Regions from separate parts of the Homo sapiens genome. Here region 1 is linked to region 2. Evidence: promoter capture Hi-C in human tissues and cell types (Jung and others, 2019). All regions are on one chromosome and are shown on one strand. The core of a region is centred on a gene start or on the middle of the fragment in contact, and the rest is flanking DNA. Distances in the headings are between cores, read along the strand shown.

Region 1 (3,662 bases), core at 343-2,842, 130 kb after region 2:
GCACCAGGCAAAGGAGAGACCCTTCCCTGCTTAGGGGATAGACAGCCTCTGCTCTCAGGGGGGCTCAAGCAGAGGGTGGGACACAGCCTTTAGCTTTGGGATGTTCCCTGCCTGAAGGTGGACATCTCAGCATCTGTTCTCAGGGAGTTCCCAGACTGAGGAAGACTCTCAGGTCCAACTCTCAATTATCACCTGGTCTGATGGGGGATACAATCCCTGAGGTCAGAGGCTTCCAATCTTATTTGATTCATCCATTTCAAAACAAGAAATTTTTTGAGCACCTACTATGTGCCAGACACTGGAGGTAGCACTATGAGAGACTACTATGTCCCACGTGCTGGAGATAGAAGAGTAAGCAAACAGGGCTCTCCCTTTTGGAGTTTACATTCCAGTGAGGGGAGGCTGACAATAAACAAGTAAAATGAGTGAGACTGGGTGATGATAGTTGCTGTAGATGAAATAATGGCCCTGTCCTCAGACAGCGCCCCATCTGGTAGGAGAGGCTGGCAGTCCATCTTTGGAAAGGATCAATATTACAGAGCACAAAATATGGAACAAACCAAGAGCCCTTACATGGCATGGAAGACTCCATCAGAGTAGAGGGCGGTTCACTTGGGAAGGCTTTCTGGAGGAGGAAGTAGATATGGCTCAGGCTGGGTTTTGCTGGAGAGAGTAGAAAAGGCAAGGAGAGGGCAGAGGCATGGAGGGTGCAGTGTGGGTGGGAGTCTGGTGGGACCTGCCAGTGGGAACAGAAGGAGAAACTGTCTTGGCCCTGGGTGGAAGGGAAGTGTTGAGTGGGTATGAGGATGCCATACGGGAGAGCAGGGGCTGCCCCAGGACCCAGCTTCTGCAGTCTTGGCTCCGGACAGTCCCCACCCACCTAGCCCCCCTCTTGGCCTTCTCCTGCCCACCTAAAGCAGGGACAGACTCACTCTGGAAGTTCCTGATAATGTGCTGAATGCAGAGCTCTGTGAGGAGGGGCACGATGGCCAGTGACCACTCAGGATCCTCAGCAATGATCCGGCGCATCCGACGGATATTGGCCCTGGGATGTGGGTTCCTGGACTTTGCAGGGACTGGTGTGATTGAAGGCTTTGAGAGCTGTGGGCTTGTGCTTGAAGTGTGTCCTCCAGTGGAGGAATTGTCCTGGGTGGAGACTGAGGAGTGGCTGGGGTCCAACAATGCTGATGTCGTTACGGTATCCTGCATGCTGGAGGCTGGCAAGGTAGGGGTGCGTGGCCCCTGGATGGCCTTATGACAAGAAGCTTCTCAGACTGGCAGGTCCTTGAAACAGGTAGGGATCTGGAGCAAAAGGAAGAGGGTAGAGGTGTTACTTTGGTGGGTCTTGGTGGGCATTTACTAAGAGAGGTGGTACAGAATAGTGCTTAACGATCAGTCCCTGGAGTGAAGCAGATCCAAGTTATCTGTGTGGCCTTGGGCAAGTTACTGAACCTCTCTGAATTTCAGATGTTGCCTCTGAGAAATGAAGGTCGCAGTTCCAGTAGGATTATTTGGAGGAGTGGATAAAATAATGCATCCAAAGGGCATAATATAGTATCTGACACATGAAACTAGCAAGGAGCAGCCCCAAATTTTAGATAATAGCTCTACAGCAATTACAGTAATTGCTCTGTGCCAGACAATCTTTTTAGTTCTTTATGCCTATTAATTCATGTGTCCTCAGAAAAGCCTTTTTCAGAAAAGGCTTTTTCAGATAGGTGCTTGTATTATTCCCATTTTTCTGCTGGGAAACTGAAGCAGAGAGGCTAATTGACTTGCCCAATGTCATGCAGCTTAGAAGTATCACGGGTGGGTTTAAATTCAGTCTGTCAAATTCATGCTCTGAACCCTACATTGGACCGGCCCTCTGAGGGTGAGGGGTGTATATTGCCAAAAGACACAGATATAATAAAGAGCCATTCAGCTCATAACAGGACCCTGCACTAAGTATTTCATAGAACAGCAACTGCCTGATCCGTAGGATGGGGTTGAGAACAGCTCTGGCCAACAGAAATATAATGCAAGCCAAAATGCAAGCCACATATGCTATTTTAACTTCTTTAGTGCCCACATTTTAAAAAGTAAAGAGAAACAAGGCTGGGCGTGGTGGCTCATGCCTGTAATCCCAGCACTTTGGGAGGCCAACGTGGGTGGGTCCCTTGAGGTCAGGAGTTTGAGACCAGCCTGGCCAACATGGTGAAATCCTGTCTCTACTAAAAATACACAGATTAGCTGGGCAGGGTGGCAGGCACCTGTAGTCCCAGCTACTCGGAAGGCTGAGGCATGACAATCAGTTAAACCTGGGATGCAGAGGTTGCAGTGAGCCAAGACTGTGCTACTGCCCTCCAGCCTGGGTGATAGAGCAAGACTCTGTCTCAAAAAAAAAAAAAAAAAAAAAAAAAAAAAGAAAAACAGGTGAAATTAGCTTTTTTTTTTTTTTTTTTTTGTCTTGCTCTTGTTGCCCAGGCTGGAGTGCAATGGCGCGATTTTGGGTCACTGCAACCTCCACCTCCAGGGTTCAAGTGATTCTCCTGTCTCAGCCTCCCGATTACAGGGATTACAGGCGCCTGCCACCACCCCCAGCTAATTTTTGTATTTTTAGTAGAGACGGGGTTTCACCATGTTGGCCAGGCTGGTCTTGAACTCCTGACCTCAGGTGATCCACCCACCTCAGCCTTCCAAAGTGCTGGGATTACAGGCGTGAACCACTGTGCCTGACCATGAAATTAATTTTATATTTAGCCCAGTATGTCTAAAATGTTATTTAAACATATAATCAATATAAAATTATTAATGCGACATTTTATATACTATGTTTTCATATGAGGTCTTCAAAATTTGATGGCTCAATGGGCACATTGAGCCTACCGTTTCAATGTGGCTACTGTTTCAGAGAGTGCAGGTTGAGAGAGAAAGGAGAGGGGAACAAGACCCATGCCCTGCCCAAGGTGCCAGCACCCTTCTCTCCTCCTTCCCACTGAGAGCTCAAACTCCAGGTCCCTTCCCTTCCATCTCCCCATCCAGTCTTCCTCTAGCTCTCCCAGCCTCCCAGCATTCCAGACAGCAGTGGGCAAGCGTGGGAGGCGAGAAGACAGCTAAATCTGGGGCTGAAGACAGAAGATAGAGGATGTGTCTTGGTCCGGGGACCCTCCCCCATTTGCCCATTCCTGCACCCTTGCACTCCTGCCCTGAGATCTGCTGGAGGAAAGCCCAAATGGGGCTGCTGGCACCTAGTTCCTCCTCCAGGCAGTTTCCCATCAGATGTGCACCCTCACGACTCAGTGCACTGGGTAGTGGCCGGTGGGAGGGAACACTCTGAACCAGCAAAGGCGTCCTTGGCAGAGGGAGGGACCAGATGGTGCTTCCCAGCCTGCCAGGCATCTCAAGGAGGAAAAGCCTGGTTGAGAGGCGGGTGGCAGGGAGAGAGATAGTGCGGGAAAGATATCTAGGTATTGTGACATCCCCTATGCAAATCAAATGCAAATTCACACACAGATTGTGTCCAGAATTGTGGAATAACCAGATAGTGCTTTTTGACTAATGGCATCTCAGAGTGTAGGGCTGGAGGGGGTTGCTGCTTAGTGGTACCGGCTGACTTTGCATTTCTGGCTTTGTCAGTTATGTGCTTTGTGACCTTGGCCAAGTTACTTAACCTATCTGAG
Region 2 (4,041 bases), core at 273-2,772:
GTGGAATCAGGAGTGGGCAGGGGAGACCACAGGATCCCCAAAGACCACTTCCTCCTTTCACAGCTGGGGGCAGCAGAAGATACGGATAAGAGCTAAAGTTATGGCCGGGCACGGTGGCTTATGCCTATAATCCTAGCGCTTTGGGAGGCCGAAGCGAGTGATCACCTGAGGTCAGGAGTTCGAGACCAGCCTGCCCAACATGGCGAAACCCCGTCTCTACTAAAAATACAAAAATTAGCTGGGCATGGTGGTGGGCACCTGTAATCCCAGCTACTTGAGAGGCTGAGGCAGGAGAATCGCTTGAACCCGGGGGGCAGAGGTTGCAGTGAGCTGAGATTGCACCACTTCACTCCAGCCTGGGCAAAAGAGCGAGACTCCATCTCAAAAAAAAAAAAAAAAAAAAAAATCTGAAGTTATTAGTTTAAATCCTGGCTCGACCGCTTAACAGCTGTGTGACCCTGGGCAAGTTGCATCATACCTCTAGACCTCACTTTCCTCATCTATAAAATGGGAATAGCAATGTCATGGCCTCTGGCTGTTTTAAGGATTAAATAAGTAGGAAGTTCTTAGCCCAGTGTTTGGCACATAATAACAAACCATAATTAATATTCTCGTAGATGAGGAGATTGAGTCCCAGAAAGGAGAAAGGGGGAGGGCTCGCCCAAGGTCAGCTCCTGTTTCAGAGCTTGGAACAAGGTTCTCTGATCCCATTGGGTGCTCTCACACCTGTTCTGTGCCTGATTAGCACCAGGCAGGGCTGAGGGGCACTGGGATGACCTTGACAGTCCCTGTCCTCAGCCATCATACACTCCAGAGAAGACTGCACTCTGGAGCAGAGTTCTTAGCTCAAAGCATTCCCACTTTCCAGTGCAGAGGCAGGACATGTGGTCAGACCAGTGGCCTAACCTTGCCAGACTGGGGCTAGGCAAGGAGAGTGTTGCAGGTGGAATCGTGTCCCCCAAAAAGGCATGTTGAAGTCCTGGCCCCCAGTACTTCAGAATGTGACCTCATTTGGAAACAGGGTGGTTGCAGATGTAATTCGTTCAATTAAGATGAGGTCATACTGAAATGCATGGGACCCTAGCCCCATATGACTGGTGTCCTTATAAGAAGAAGAGACACAGAGGAGGGTGCCATGTGAAGACAGCAACACAGGAAAAATGCCATGTCAGTGAGAAAGGGGCTTTTGGGAATGAGAAGGCTTTCTGGATGTAAAGGTCAGGTTGGTGTGTCAGGGACAACCCCTTCCTGGAAACCTTGGGCTGAAAAAAAGGGACTGGGACCTACCCTGATGGGATGACCGTGATACAGTGAGGACAGCCAGGCTGGTGGAGGCTGTGCAAGGCAGGGGTGCTGGGTCATCTGTCCCTAAAGCGGGTAGCCCTCAGCTGGGTAAGGGGCTGGGTTACTGAGAAGGAGAAAAGGGAAGGCAGCTGTTAAACCGGCTGCTGACCTAGGAATCCCACTGCAATGAGAGAGTTCTGGGGGGAGGGTCTCTTCTCCCCCTCCCACCAGAACCTTCAACTGTCAAGCACCGAGCTAGCCACCAGCATGCTGTACTCCCCAGGTAGGCACTCATGGGGCCTTGCCCCACTCCTGTACCTCCTGCAGGCTAGAGCCTCCCCCCAGGGGAGGAGCTGTGTCCCGCATCAGACTGGGTGCCCCTTGAGGGTACAGAGAGTGACTCTTCCATCAGACTGGATGCCCCTTGAGGGTACAGAGAGTGACTCTTCCATCAGACTGGATGCTCCCTAAGGACAGGACCTGGGCCTCGTTCTCAGACTGTTTGGGGAAGGATAGGCCACTGGTGGTCAGACTGGGTGGTAGGCCGGGCAGGAACTCTTTCTCCTCTCCACTGACAGTTGGAGTTGGGGAGAGGAGAGGGGCCGGCCATCCCACTGTCATGGCTGCTGGGGAAAAGGGTTTGTGTGAAAAAGCCCACGTAGAGAAGAAAACTTTAGGGAACAGAGAGAACCTCTCCTAAGCCTAGAAAAGCAGGTCCCTCAGCCCAGGAAGATGAGATCCTCAGGGTGGCAGGGGCAGGACTACCTGAGGCAAGCCTGGGACCAGACTCCAGGAGATGGGGGAGAGTGGGCTGGGGGGAAGGGGAGGGCTGGGCAGAACTGAGTTGTTCCTGTGGGGCTAGGGTGCACAGAGGGCAGCCAGCCTTGGCCAGCAGAAGGTCAGCCCTGTACCTCACCCTCAGCCTGGGGCACCGTGAGACCATGGGCCCCTAGACCCAGCCTCCCAGCTTCTCAGGCCCTCCCTGTTTACCTGACCCTAGGAAGTTTAGGCCTAGCTGGTGACCCCAAACCCAGTCCTTGTTCTTCAGAAGTGCCCTGAGCCCAGGAGTTCAAGACCAGCCTGGTCAGCATAGCAAGACCTCATCTCAAAATATAATTTATTTATTTATTATTATTACTTATTAGTATTTATTTTTTTTTAAAGTTCCCTGACACAACATCTTAGTTTTTTCCCAGTGCCGGAAATCAAACTGTCCTTAAATCTATAGTCCCCTAATAACAATGTATTGCATTTAGAAAATCACTGAGAGAGGCCAGGCACAGTGGTTCACGCCTGTAATCCTAGCACTCTGGGAGGCCAAGGCAGGTGGATCATCTGAGGTCAGGAGTTCGAGACCAGCCTGGCCAACATAGTGAAACCGTGTCTCTACTAAAATACAAAAATTAGCCATGCGTGGTGGCGGGCGCCTGTAATCCCAGCTACTCGGGAGGCTGAGGCAGGAGAATCTCTTGAACCCAGCAAGTGGAGGTTGCAGTGAGCCGAGATCGTGCCACCGCACCCCAAGCCTGGGCGACACAGCGAGACTCCATCTCAAAAAAAAAAGAAAATCACTGACAGTAGATTTTAAGTGTTCTCACCACAAACAAATAACAAGTATGTGCAGTAATGCAGATATTAATTAGCTCAACTGAGCCATTCCACAGTGAATACATATTTCAAAACACCATGTCGTATACAACAGATATATACTTTTTTTGTCAATAAAATAAAACTGATTTAGTTAAAAACGATCTGGCCGGGCGCAGTGGCTCACGCCTGTAATCCCAGCACTTTGGGAGGCCGTGGCGGGCAGATCACGAAGTCAGGAGATCGGGACCATCTTGGCTAACGCGGTGAAACCCTGTCTCTACTAAAAATACAAAAAATAAGCCAGGCGTGGTGGCGGGCGCCTGTAGTCCCAGCTACTCGGGAGGCTGAGGCAGGAGAATAGCGTGAACCCAGAAGGTGGAGCTTGCAGTGAGCCAAGATCGCTCCACTGCACTCCAGCCTGGGCGACAGAGTGAGACTCCGCCTCAAAAAAAACCTCAAAAAACAACAACAACAACAACAACAAAATGATCTGTAGGTTCTCAGTCTGATGGAGGAGACAGGATGTGCAGCTGCAGCAGAAAGCTTCCTGTCCATTCATGCCTTTTAACATGCAGCAGCCCCTGCTTTCCACGCAGTTTCAGTTACCCGCTGTCAACTGCAGTCTGAAAACATCAGGATATTTTGAGACAGAGAGACCACATTCACATTACTGTTATTGTATTGTTGTATTTGTTATATTTTATTACTTATTATGGTTAACTGCTTACTGTGCCTAATTTATAAACTAAACTTTATCATAGGTATGTACATAAAGGAAAGACATAGTATTGATATATACAGGGTTTGGTACCACCCGCAGTTTCAGGTGTCCACTGGGGGTGTTGGAACGTACCCCTAGGGTTAAGGGGAGCTACTGTGTTGCTCTGGCCATCTGTCTGTGCTTCCCACAGGCAGCCTTGGTCTGTCTGTCTCAGCCTTCTCACGCTCCTAGCCCATGTGACAGCTTGGATCTTTTGCCCTCTCTAAGGGGATATTTTCTTTTGGGTTTTTTTTTTTTTTGGTGTTTTTGTTTGTTTGTTTGTTTTGAGGTGGAGTCTCACTCTATTGCCCAGGCTGGAGTGCAGTGGCCCAACCTTGGCTCACTGCAACCTCCACCTCCCGGGTTCAAGCGATTCTCCTGCCTCAGCCTCCTGAATAGCTGGGACT

What was found. Contacts are between HindIII fragments. The study calls those that stand out against the background at their distance.
Region 1: a contact is called between a fragment that was not itself captured here and the fragment with the promoter of CAPN11 in region 2, in 1 of the 25 tissues and cell types used here (spleen).

Annotation. Positions count from the first base shown.
Region 1 is chr6:44,286,617-44,290,278 of GRCh38, forward strand. DRC5 (dynein regulatory complex subunit 5) reads right to left here. Exons shown (of 5, transcript NM_182539.4): 2 at 933-1,302. The coding sequence starts at 1,209. Among named protein-coding and RNA genes, the nearest start is that of DRC5, 9.2 kb to the right of the region's middle. The HindIII fragment of the contact is 7,555 bases long and covers 1-3,662 here.
Region 2 is chr6:44,157,298-44,161,338 of GRCh38, forward strand. It overlaps CAPN11 (calpain 11), which reads left to right and starts at 1,523. Exons shown (of 23, transcript NM_007058.4): 1 at 1,523-1,567. The coding sequence starts at 1,552. LOC107986599 (a long non-coding RNA gene) reads right to left here and starts at 1,306. Exons shown (of 3, transcript XR_002956350.2): 1 at 1,288-1,306. RefSeq lists an enhancer at 2,700-2,869. The HindIII fragment of the contact is 19,752 bases long and covers 1-4,041 here.